2 separate regions of the Homo sapiens genome follow, and region 2 is linked to region 1. The links are contacts of gene promoters, found by promoter capture Hi-C in human tissues and cell types (Jung and others, 2019). All regions are on one chromosome and are shown on one strand. Each heading gives the region's core, a stretch centred on a gene start or on the middle of the fragment in contact. The rest is flanking DNA. Distances are from core to core; before and after follow the strand shown.

Region 1 (5,117 bases), core at 753-3,252:
GATTATTTGCATCACAGAGATGTAGTCCAGGACCTGACTTGTCTTTGCAGTAGGGACAGCAATGTTCTGTGCCAAAAGGAAAGAAATGATGTGGAAAGAAGGTACATTATGAGGCTGCATAGAACAGGGGAGTGGAGGGCACTTCTTTGGGTTTTTATTTTTTGTCCCTGTTATCCAATAGGGAGGAGAGAGGATAAGGCAGATTCCCATCCTCAGTTACAAACAATGGGACATGTGTATTTCTCCCTCATGCTGGGAACATTTAAATGAAAAAAAAATTATTCCCCGGTGATGTTCAGGCTCAAAGCACTGAGAATAAAACGTACCTTCCGTTTTAGGAGCCCAAATCTACTTTACAACTGCCCCCTGCCCCCAAGGTCAGGTCTACACTAGCTGAATGTACTGAAGAATTGGGCGATTATCAGCATAATCCACTTTAAAAATCAAGTCTCTGCTATCCAGGCCTATGAGAATCAAGCTTTTACCGTTCCCTTTGGGGCCTGGATAGTTTTCAAGCTGCCTTCTCCTCACATCATGTGAGTAGAGCCGGCCAAGAAAACCAGGGAGACATCTCCCCCCAGCCTGGCCCAGACTTCCGGGCCCCACCCCAGGAGAGAGCCTCCCACTCTGGCCAGTGCCCTGCAAAGCCTTCGCCCCACCCCGCCCCAATTTCTCCTTATGCCTGGCTCATTCCTTAGGGGCTGAGTTGGGAGATAAGACTTGGGGTTGCAGTTGCTGGGGATCATTCGTTTACATTTCTTTTCTTTCAATCAAGGACTTCTTTTTTTCTTTTGAAATTCTTTCCTGCACTGATGGTGAGAAAAGACCCCTCAGGCTTCCTTTTGATGTTGGACCGAGCCAGCCCACGGTGAGAGGGGATGCTGAGCCCGTGGTGAGGAGCTCAGGACAGGAGGGGACGTCCAGAGACCTCCGAACCCATGGCCCTTCATTCCCAGTCACAAGGGGGGAGTCGGGGTCCCGCCCTCAAACTGCTCAGACCACGCGTGGCAGAAAGAGCAGAGCATGAGCATCAGGAACCGCACAGGGAAGCCGCTGAGATCACCTGGGATCACCACCATGAGGGAGGCCAGCCCTGGAGAAATCAGAGGGAAAAGATAGAGAGAACGAAGTCGGGGGGGGGGGGGGGAGGGCGGATCTTCCTTGTCTGAGTCTGCAGAGAAATTGCCTATTGCAGGAGCAAGTCTAGAGAGGGGCTATTCTCCACCCACTGAAAAGATAATAAAACACATGCTATGGGCGGCGGGGAGATGATTGGGGAGTGGAAGCCCCACAGACATGCAGTGAAAAATGATCCTTTCTTCCCCTCTGCGTTCTCGTCCCCTTCCCAGAGACACCGCTGTGATCTCGTGCCTCGCCCCCTCCGCACACGCACAGGTGCACACCCGCATCTGTCTTGAGCCCGCACCCCGCCTTCACGCTCCGCTGCGCGCTGCTTTTCCGCGCTCAGTGATCCAGTTAGGAGCTCTCCCCGCAGCAGCTGCGCGGGACTTTGCATTCCAGATGTCCCCAGCCCTCCAGGCTAAAGCAGCGGCCACCTGAAGTTGAGGAATGGGGCGTGACGACCACCAGGTCCCGCAGTGACCACGGGAGGGTGGGGAGAAGGAGTCCAGCTCCGCCTTGAGCGTCGGGTCCCTGGGCAGGACCCTCCGGGCCACGGGCCGCTGTCCGTTGGGCACCCGGGCAGGAGTCTGCGAACGCTGAGTTTCTCTGGAAAGGCGCGGACCCCCGGAGGAGCCGTCCCAGCCGCCTGGGGAGACGCCCCCTCCTCTCCCGGTCTTCTTTCCCGGGCACACCCTCCCTAGCCCGGGCGGGGGGGTTCTCCATCTGCCGCCCCTCCCGGCGGGCAGGCGAACTCTCTCCTACCGCACCCTCAATCTGTCCGCGGTCGCGGGGCTCGGCGGGGGCGGGGCCCGGGCGGGGGCGGGGGCGGGGCCGGGGGCGGGGCGGGCCGGCGGCTGCGGAGGCTGCGGAGGCTGCGGGAGAAAAGTTGTCCCGGCCGGAGCGCGAGCAGCGGCGGAGCCGGAGCCGCCAGAGCCAGAGCCGGAGCTGCGGCGGCGTGGACCCGGCAGGGGCGGGCCTCGGACAGCAGAGACGCAGCGGGCCCGGCCGACCGGGCTGCGGGAGTGGCCCCGGGCATGGGGCGGCCGGCGGGGGCCGCGGGCGGGCGCTGCGCTTCGGGCTGGCGGCGGGCTGCGTGAGCGGCCGGGACGCAGGATGCGCTCCGAGGGTGCGGCCCCCGGGCCGGCGGCGCCGCTGTGCGGGGCGCTGAGCCTGCTGCTGGGCGCGCTGCTGGGCAAAGGTAAGGCCGGGGCGGGTGCCTGGCGCGCCGACGCATGCGAACTTCCCGGTTCCGGGGGAGCTCGGGGTGAGGGCAGCCGAAGCGAGGGGTGCGGCGGGGGCCTCGGCGGGGGCTCGGATCCCATCAACAGCGCCTCTGCGGGTGCCGAGCCGCCCCTAATCCAGAAGGGCGCTCCCAGCTGGGCGCCGGGATCCGGGCAAGTTAGGCTGGTCCCGAGTCCCGAATCTCCCACCCCGGACCCCCCAGACCCAGAGCTGCCCCGCGGATGAGGAGGGGGCGTGGCTGAGGGACACGGTGTTTGTTCCCCATCCCTGAGTTCCGTGCGGACCTGCCCCAGCCCCAGCACAGTCACCCTGTGGAACTGGCATCCAGGAGAGGTGCTCCGCTCTGTGCGCTCCTTCCTCCCGGCTGTGTGCTCCCTGTCCACAGCTCCCCATCCACAGCTTCGGCACTGTGGGGCTGGTGCTCCAGGAGGGAAGGCCCGGTTCTTTGCATCCCCTTTCCGCAACCGCTAGGGTCTCTGTGCGGGCCCTAGAGGAACGCTCACTCATCGCGCAGCTCACCAGGGACCCCAGCTTGGCAGAAACCAGGGGCTCTCTGCGGGTTCTCTCAAATGAGTCCTTTGCGGTGGGGGAGCGCGGATGGGGAGGTGGGTGCGTCCCTCGCGACGGGAACTACCTCACCAGCGGTCCTGTCCGGGGCTCCTTCACCTCAGTGTCCTCTTCTCTACAATGGGAGTGACGGCCCTGCTTTGGGTTGGAGGAATTTAAAGGAGTTAACGTATGGCGCCCGCAGGGCTCACGAAAGGTAGCCGTGTGGTTTTTCCGACCTTTTTTATTATGTGCGTGTGCGGCCGAGTGGCCGCGCGGATGCGGCGGCGGGAAGGGCGGGGAGAGGCGGTCTCCAGCCCCAGGAGCCGCGGGGCAGGCGGGGAGCAAGGCCTAGGCTCTGCCAGGGCAGCAGCTGCCCGAGTCCCGGGGCGCGCCCAGGGCGTAGAAAAAGGAGAGCGTCGCTTTCCTGCTCCCCGCGCCCTGGCGAAGGTCTCGGGTTCATTTGGTTAAACGGAGGTGCGCACATGGGTGCCCTGAGCCTTCGCGCGGCGCCGCGGGTCCAGTATCGGCCCCAGGCTCTGAGCAGAGAACACTCAAAGCCACCCTTCTCCCGCCTAATGCTCTGAGGCTGAGCTAGAAATGCGTTCAGAGAGACAAGTTGTCAATGGAGGTTTAAAAGTAGCGTTTGCTTTTCAAAAGTCATTCTGCACCGCCTGAAAATCCAGAAAAATCTACTTTCCTTGAGGCTGCGCTTTCCCAGATACACCAACCAGACAAGTTTGCTATGTTTTATATAAGTGTTCCTTTCTTCCAAGAGCTCCAGGTAGGGAGGAGGGTGGGGTGAGAGAGGGGGGGGAAGAAGGAGTGAGAGAAGAGGGAAAGAGAGGGTGGGGCGAGAGAGGGGGGAAAGGGGGTGAGAGACGAGGGAAAGGGGGGGCAAGTCGGGGGTGGAGGAGTAGGAGAGGGGGGCACTTTTCTATTTTATTTGAAAGAGTCAACAGTCACGATCTGGTGCCTGAATTCTGCTGTTAATTAGCTCTAGGTTCCAGCGTTTCTAGGATTCAGTTTTCCTAGATGCAAAGTGGCCATTGAAGAATTCCCTTCCCAACCTACCTCCCAGCAGTTTTTTGTTGATAAAATGACTGAATGGGTAGTAAAGCACTTTGCAGAGGAAGGCGGTGCTAATTGAGCAGGGCGTGACCGACCTCCTCCGGGTTTTCACCCCTTGCCCTTGAGAGAATTTAACCAGGCGAACTGGATGTTCCCTTTAAAGCAAGTGTGGACTGTTCTTCATTAAGGCTCACATTCCGTGTGTGTGTGTGTGTGTGTGTGTGTGTGTATCCAGAGGATTTTACTTTTGATTACGAGAGTGGCTGTTACAGATGTCCATGTGTTCAGTGCTGGGGGCAGTGATTTGGCTGGAAAGGCAACTGGGACTGGATTTGAAGCTGATATTTGCACAACAAGGGAAAGTGCTGAAAACTAGGGACGTAGCGAAGCCCCACCCCTATCCCAAACCGCCTCTGCCCTCTAGCTAAGTGCAACCTTGATTTGATGGGGCTTTCTTTCCCTGCTTTTTGCTTTACAAAGTTCACCACGTGATTTGGGGGTGCATAAGGGCCTGCAACTTATCATCTGCAAAATACATTTTCCGTTTGTTTCTCATGATCAAAAGCAGCAGTTCATTCCCCCCTCGGATTCCTCCACACGTAAAGCGTTTGCACCGTAAGATATCTTCTAGAGAGGAAAGTTTGCTGACCTTGTTTACATTTCTGCTGTCTTTAAAAAAAAAAAGCCATCTCTGTCTCTTCCTGCACACGGATTTAAGTGCTGATTTCTGGAATCCTTGAAACCACTGATTAATTTTTAATACCAATTGTCTGTTTATTTTTGACTGTGGATTTAGAGGCTTTGCAATTTGTCAGGGTTCGGAAAAGGCAGAATTGTTCTTGGGAGGTTCCATAAATAGGACAGGGCATTGAAAGAAAGAAATCTTTTCCTAAGATTTAAGACTTGGGCCGAGGCAGGAGAGGCAAAACATCCTTGAATTAGAGGTTGATGTATTGCGCCTGTATAAAGCAAGTGGAAGGGCGGTGCCAGGCTGAGATGCCCTCGGAAGTTTAGTGATGGTTGTTAGTCACATATGAGACCTTCTGGGAAGGTTATGTGGGACCACATTCTCTTTTCTGAAATCTGTGGGGGCAAATGTATTTCAAGATTTAGAATTACTGATATCTTTGAATGAC
Region 2 (5,117 bases), core at 1,140-3,639, 100 kb after region 1:
TGTGTCGCCCGCGGCTCTCCTCCCAGCGACAGACTCCAGACCTCTATGCTGTCTGCTTTTCCTTTTTTACCTCCCCTGTCCCCTACCCGGTTTTCTAGCCTTTGAGGGAACTGTTCAGACTGTTGGATTCAGACTGTTAGTGCCATTTCCCCCCAGCGTGGACAACTGCACAGTGCGAACTTGCTGACTTTCCTTAGCTGCTCCTGCAGAATGGGGTTTAAAACAATGCATCACCAGAGCATGCAGCCACCCTTAATGACCTTCTGGCTCCTCAGCTGGACGCGGCTTCTTATAGCCCCGGATCACAGAACTCTTTGATGGTTCTCTGGATCTCCGGTGGCCATCTGACCTCTCAGGAAACAGGGCATGGAAATGGCCCTTGTCTCCCACCCTGTTCAGTAAGTTTGAGGCTTGTGAGATGGAAACGTGCCCCAGCCTCACACAGGCAGCAGGGAAGATAGTGGGAGAACCCTTTTGGTGCCCTTGAGTGGTCAAGCCAGTTCCTCCTTCTGAGTTTCAGAAGCCTCATCTATGAAATTTGGGGATGGCACTGGAAGTGTTGTAAGACCCCTTCCAGCTTTATTTACTTAATTAATATGCATGTATTAAGTACGTCTTATGTGCTGCGTGCAGAGTTACATACTAGGGAAAGAGAGTCCTGAGTCGGAAAGACAGGGTCCTACATGACATTCCTGTGGACAGAGGCCAAAAATAAGCAAGTGCTTAAGCAATCACGTGAATTCAGAAATGTGTGCAGAAGTAAGTCACATGGGTGACATGGGAGTGAGGACCTGGGGAAGAACTTGGCTTTGATATTCTTGAAGGGCTTTCTGCAGAGGTGATGACTGAGCTGGGGCCAGAATGAAAAGATGGAACCAGACTTGGGAAGAGCATTCTAGAATGTGAAACTAGAACATGCAAAGGCCCTGAGGTAGGTGAAAATGAAGCCCTGGACCAGAAGGAAAGGCAGCCATTGTGACAGGGGCTTAGGGAAGGAAAGGAAGTTGTTCAAGGCAGGAGCTTGGAGGGGAAGGCCAGGTCTGGATCACTAGGGGTTTTGATAAGAGGTTGATCAGTTTCCAGAACACGTCCAGAGATGTGTCTGTTCTTGAAGCACAGTCCTGAAGTCACATTTCTTCCAGATGCTAAATACTTGAGCTCTGTGTTCTGTGCTCATTATGCAAAATGGTCACCTTCAGGAGAGAAAAATAGCTTTTCTGGTGAGGTGTTTTTGGCAGCTTCACCTAGGTGACAATGCTACTCTCCACCCCAGAGGGTTGGAAAACAATAGTGAGGTGTGCATAGTCAACAGTCCCATCTGATGGGCTCCAGTTTGGGTTAATGATTCCCTGGCACAGTCCAAGGGCTCTGGCACTGCCCCTAGCAAGCGCACAGAGACCAGGAGTCCACTGGAGTGGCCATTTCCCAGTGATTCTAGACCTTCCCTGTCCAGTGCAGTAGCCAAGTGTACTTGTGAACCCTTGAAATGAGGCTAGTCCAAACTGCGATGAGCTGTAAGTATGAAATACCAGATTTTGAAAGCATAGTATGAAAAAAAGTAAAAAAAAAAAATCACATGAATAATTTACATAGTGATTACATGTTCAAATGATAATATTTTTGTTTTATTTGGTTTAATAAAATGTTATTAAAATTAATTTCTTCTGCTTCTGTTTTCCTCTGTAATGTGGTTACTAGGAAATATACTATTATATTTAGCCCATATTTGAGGCTTGCATTCTATTTCTATTAGACAGTGGCGGCTGGTCTAGACCGTGCTAACTGCTGTCAGCCGGACTTTGGAGATGAAAGAGGTCAGATAATAAAGGACATTATCAGAGCTCTGGCTTTATACATGGCAACTTTGCGTGAATTAGAAAAAGCTGATGCTTCTGCGCAGACCAAGAAGGAGACAATACCCCATCTTCCAGGAAGATCTAGCCACCAGCCAGGGTGCCCCACTTGGCAAATGGACATGGGGCATAGTTCATCCCCACTAGCTAGGAGCTTTTATGAAGGCCACAGTCTGCATAGCAGCTTGCAGCTCAGGACTAATTTGTCCCCGCTGCTCTGCTTTACAGCCGGAAGCAACGTCCATTTGGTTTGAGTGTCAGGGAAGCCAGATTTGAAGCAAGGTAGCGCAGTGGTTATGACTGCCACCTCTGGGACCAAACAAACATGCTTGAATCCAGTCTAGCTCCGAAAAGGTCCAGTCAATCTTGGGCACTTTACCTACTTAAACTTTCTGGGTCTTCGTTTCTCCCTTCCTAAAGTAGCGAAGATGATAAGAAGGTCCTCCTGGGCTTAGTGAAAGGGTTAATTAATCGCTCCGGTTCCTGACACATAGTCATCACTCTGGAAATGTTTGCTGTTATTACAATGATGACCATCCTTGATTTAGCAAAGGAGGGTGGGCATGAAGGTGTAAGGTATGCCCAGATGCCCTTGAAGAAGAAATTTCACTTCTGGCCTTGGAGGAACATCCATTGGTTGGAAAGCATCTTGTCTCTCCACAAGGTATGAAATACAGAGCATGTTTTCTGCTCACTGTTTTTAGGTAACTGTTTTATGTTTTTTATCTCACATCCAAGACAAGCACTGCCAGCCCATTCCACAAAGCGGGAGACTGAGAGTCAGGGAGTCCTTTCTCAAGGTTGGTGCAGCAGCTTAGAGGAAGGCACACCAAAGGCACGAAGAGAGGCTTTGGGGAACTGAACTCGCCCCTGAGACTCTAGAGAATTCCCTGAGATCACTAGGGATGACTTAGAAAAATACTCCAGGGATGTGCTTTGCAAGCTCCTGTTCCCTCCAGGTTCTATGGGGGCATTTCAGTGTCCTGAGAAGGTGTGAGTGGATGGTGGTTATTTGCTGATTTTACTTATTGGAATACTGGTAAGTCTAGTAAGGCATTTACTTTTTATGACAGTGACAAATATGATAATGAGATGAGGATGGTGATAATGAAGTTGCTGGTAACTCTTGTTTATTAAGCCTTCTTAAATTCCAGACACTGTCTTAAGCACTTTACACAGATTATCTCATTCACTTTACACAGATTATCTCATTGATACTTAAAATGATGAGTTTAATACTATTGGACTGAGCATTAAACTCAATACAATGTTTTTTTAGAAACTCATTTTATTATTAAAAACTCATTTTATTAGTAAACATTAATACAATGTTCACTATGAAAACATCGATACAATGTTTACTATGAAAACATTGATGCCAAATCAGAGGAAGTTCTGTGATCATTCCCATTTTACAGCTGAGAAAACTGAGGCTTTACAGGTTGCATATCTTGTTTTGGTGATGCAGATGATTCATGCTTCAGCATTCATGCTTAACTAGGGCTGTTTAACTGGGTACAGCAGGAGGTAACACAGGCATTTGGCAGAGAGTAAAGACCCAGGCATTGTAACCCATCATTACTTCCAATTCATTTGAATAAAAGACTCCACAGTTATCACTCAAAATGATTGCCTGGGTCATGGTTTTTCTTCTCAAGTTTCAGCCTTGGGATGGACATGTGTCCTGTTCAGTGGTTGTTCTCACCCAAAACCTAAGGCTGCCACTGACAACGCCTTGAAGCTGTGGCTTGTTTCATCGAGGCGTGCTGCCATGGAAGCTTCAGTCCTGTTGTGCACACGTTTTGGTTCCTCATTTGTTCCTATTTTGGAGACCCTCATATATGAGCCTAAATTAGTATATGCATCATGATATATCTGCCACAGCGTTTCCCTGGCTAGAAATCCATCCCAAACATTAGTATGGGTTTAAAAGCAAGAGTTGGGCTCTAGGCCCTTGTTTATTGCTGATGGATCTTGCATTTCTTGAAAGTCTTCCCTTTTTGCACTAAATTTTTCTGCCTTTCCATATCTGCCAGAGTCCTCTGCACCTGCTTATCGTACACCATTTCATGGAACAAATCCACTGTTGACTTCCTGGGGGCCTGAGCTTAGATGGGCAGATGCCCTGGCCAGCAAGCCCCCTGCCAGTCTTAGGGCTCAGGTGTGCAGGGAGATCCACACCTTCCTGCAGTAAGAATCTGGTACATGCACGGGGCTGCCTGGTTTCCTCTGAGCAACAGTCATAGGTGTGTTAGACTATTGCAGGTGACCTAAAGATGCCTTAACATAGCATAAGCATAACCAGAAAATGTTCCTGTATGGGACAACATCCTAGCAAGAAACAGAATTTACCCAGGGTGGTCAATTGAAGGATCTATTGACTGAGTCATTGGCAGGGTTAAAGGAACAAACAAGACGTTTCAAGGTACCCAGGGACCAGCAGCAAAGCAAAGGTGAAGAGGCAAGGAGAGTAGTGTTTCTAGAGCCCAGTGAGAGTGGGGCCTCAGGAAAGGGGTCAAGCAGGACGGAGGTAGAGATGCAGAGGGAAGTGGCCACCACCAGAGGCACAGCACCAAGAAAAGGGGGAACTTGGAAAGGCACCCTGACCTCTCTCCTCCAACCTTCTGATCTCCTAACTTGACTCTAAGCCAGTGTGAGAGGGAGTGCAGATGGTGCATCTGTAAGAGTCATCTTCCCAAGGCTCAGAGAAAGGCAGTGTGGATCGAGGTGGAGTGGGGAGGCTCAGTGAAGAATTTCCAGCACAGCTCCTAAAACTGGCAAACAGTTTCCCATTTATTCATAGAATTCAACTTATCCTGCACGGCACCAGAATAATAGCAGCTACCCCTGAGGAGCTCACTATGCCCCAGACATTGTTCTAAGGACTCATATACTAACTCATTTAATTCTCAGAACCACCCTTTGAGGTAAGTCTTATTACTGCCCTTGTGCCGATAGAAGTGGTGAAGCAGGGCTTTCAATCCAGGTGCCTGGCTCTAGAATCATCGCAGGTCTAACCAGCATGCACAGGAGCCTCGTCTAACATGGATGGGATGTTAGCCGCATCTAACATCCTAACATAGTAGGATGGGATTTAAAGGGAAGGGGTTTCTGGGGGCCAAGGATTGTGTTCTCATGTGAACAGAAGGTGCATTGGTGTGTGGATAGTGTTGCCTGACCTACTTAAAATCTATTTTCCCTTTTTCTCATAGCAGCACATGGATTTTTCTGGGGGAATTATTTCTTTTTAATTCTCTGTCAATG

Evidence for each region. Contacts are between HindIII fragments. The study calls those that stand out against the background at their distance.
Region 2: a contact is called between a fragment that was not itself captured here and the fragment with the promoter of TMEM132C in region 1, in 2 of the 25 tissues and cell types used here (dorsolateral prefrontal cortex and mesendoderm cells).

Annotation. Positions count from the first base shown.
Region 1 is chr12:128,265,168-128,270,284 of GRCh38, forward strand. TMEM132C (transmembrane protein 132C) reads left to right here and starts at 2,003. Exons shown (of 9, transcript NM_001136103.3): 1 at 2,003-2,320. The coding sequence starts at 2,236. It overlaps LOC107987176 (a long non-coding RNA gene), which reads right to left and starts at 1,865. Exons shown (of 2, transcript XR_001749176.1): 1 at 1,404-1,865. RefSeq lists enhancers at 1,149-1,670, 2,206-3,044. The HindIII fragment of the contact is 10,344 bases long and covers 132-5,117 here.
Region 2 is chr12:128,366,183-128,371,299 of GRCh38, forward strand. The region is part of intron 1 of TMEM132C (transmembrane protein 132C); the gene reads left to right. Among named protein-coding and RNA genes, the nearest start is that of MIR3612, 75 kb to the left of the region's middle. The HindIII fragment of the contact is 5,400 bases long and covers 1-5,089 here.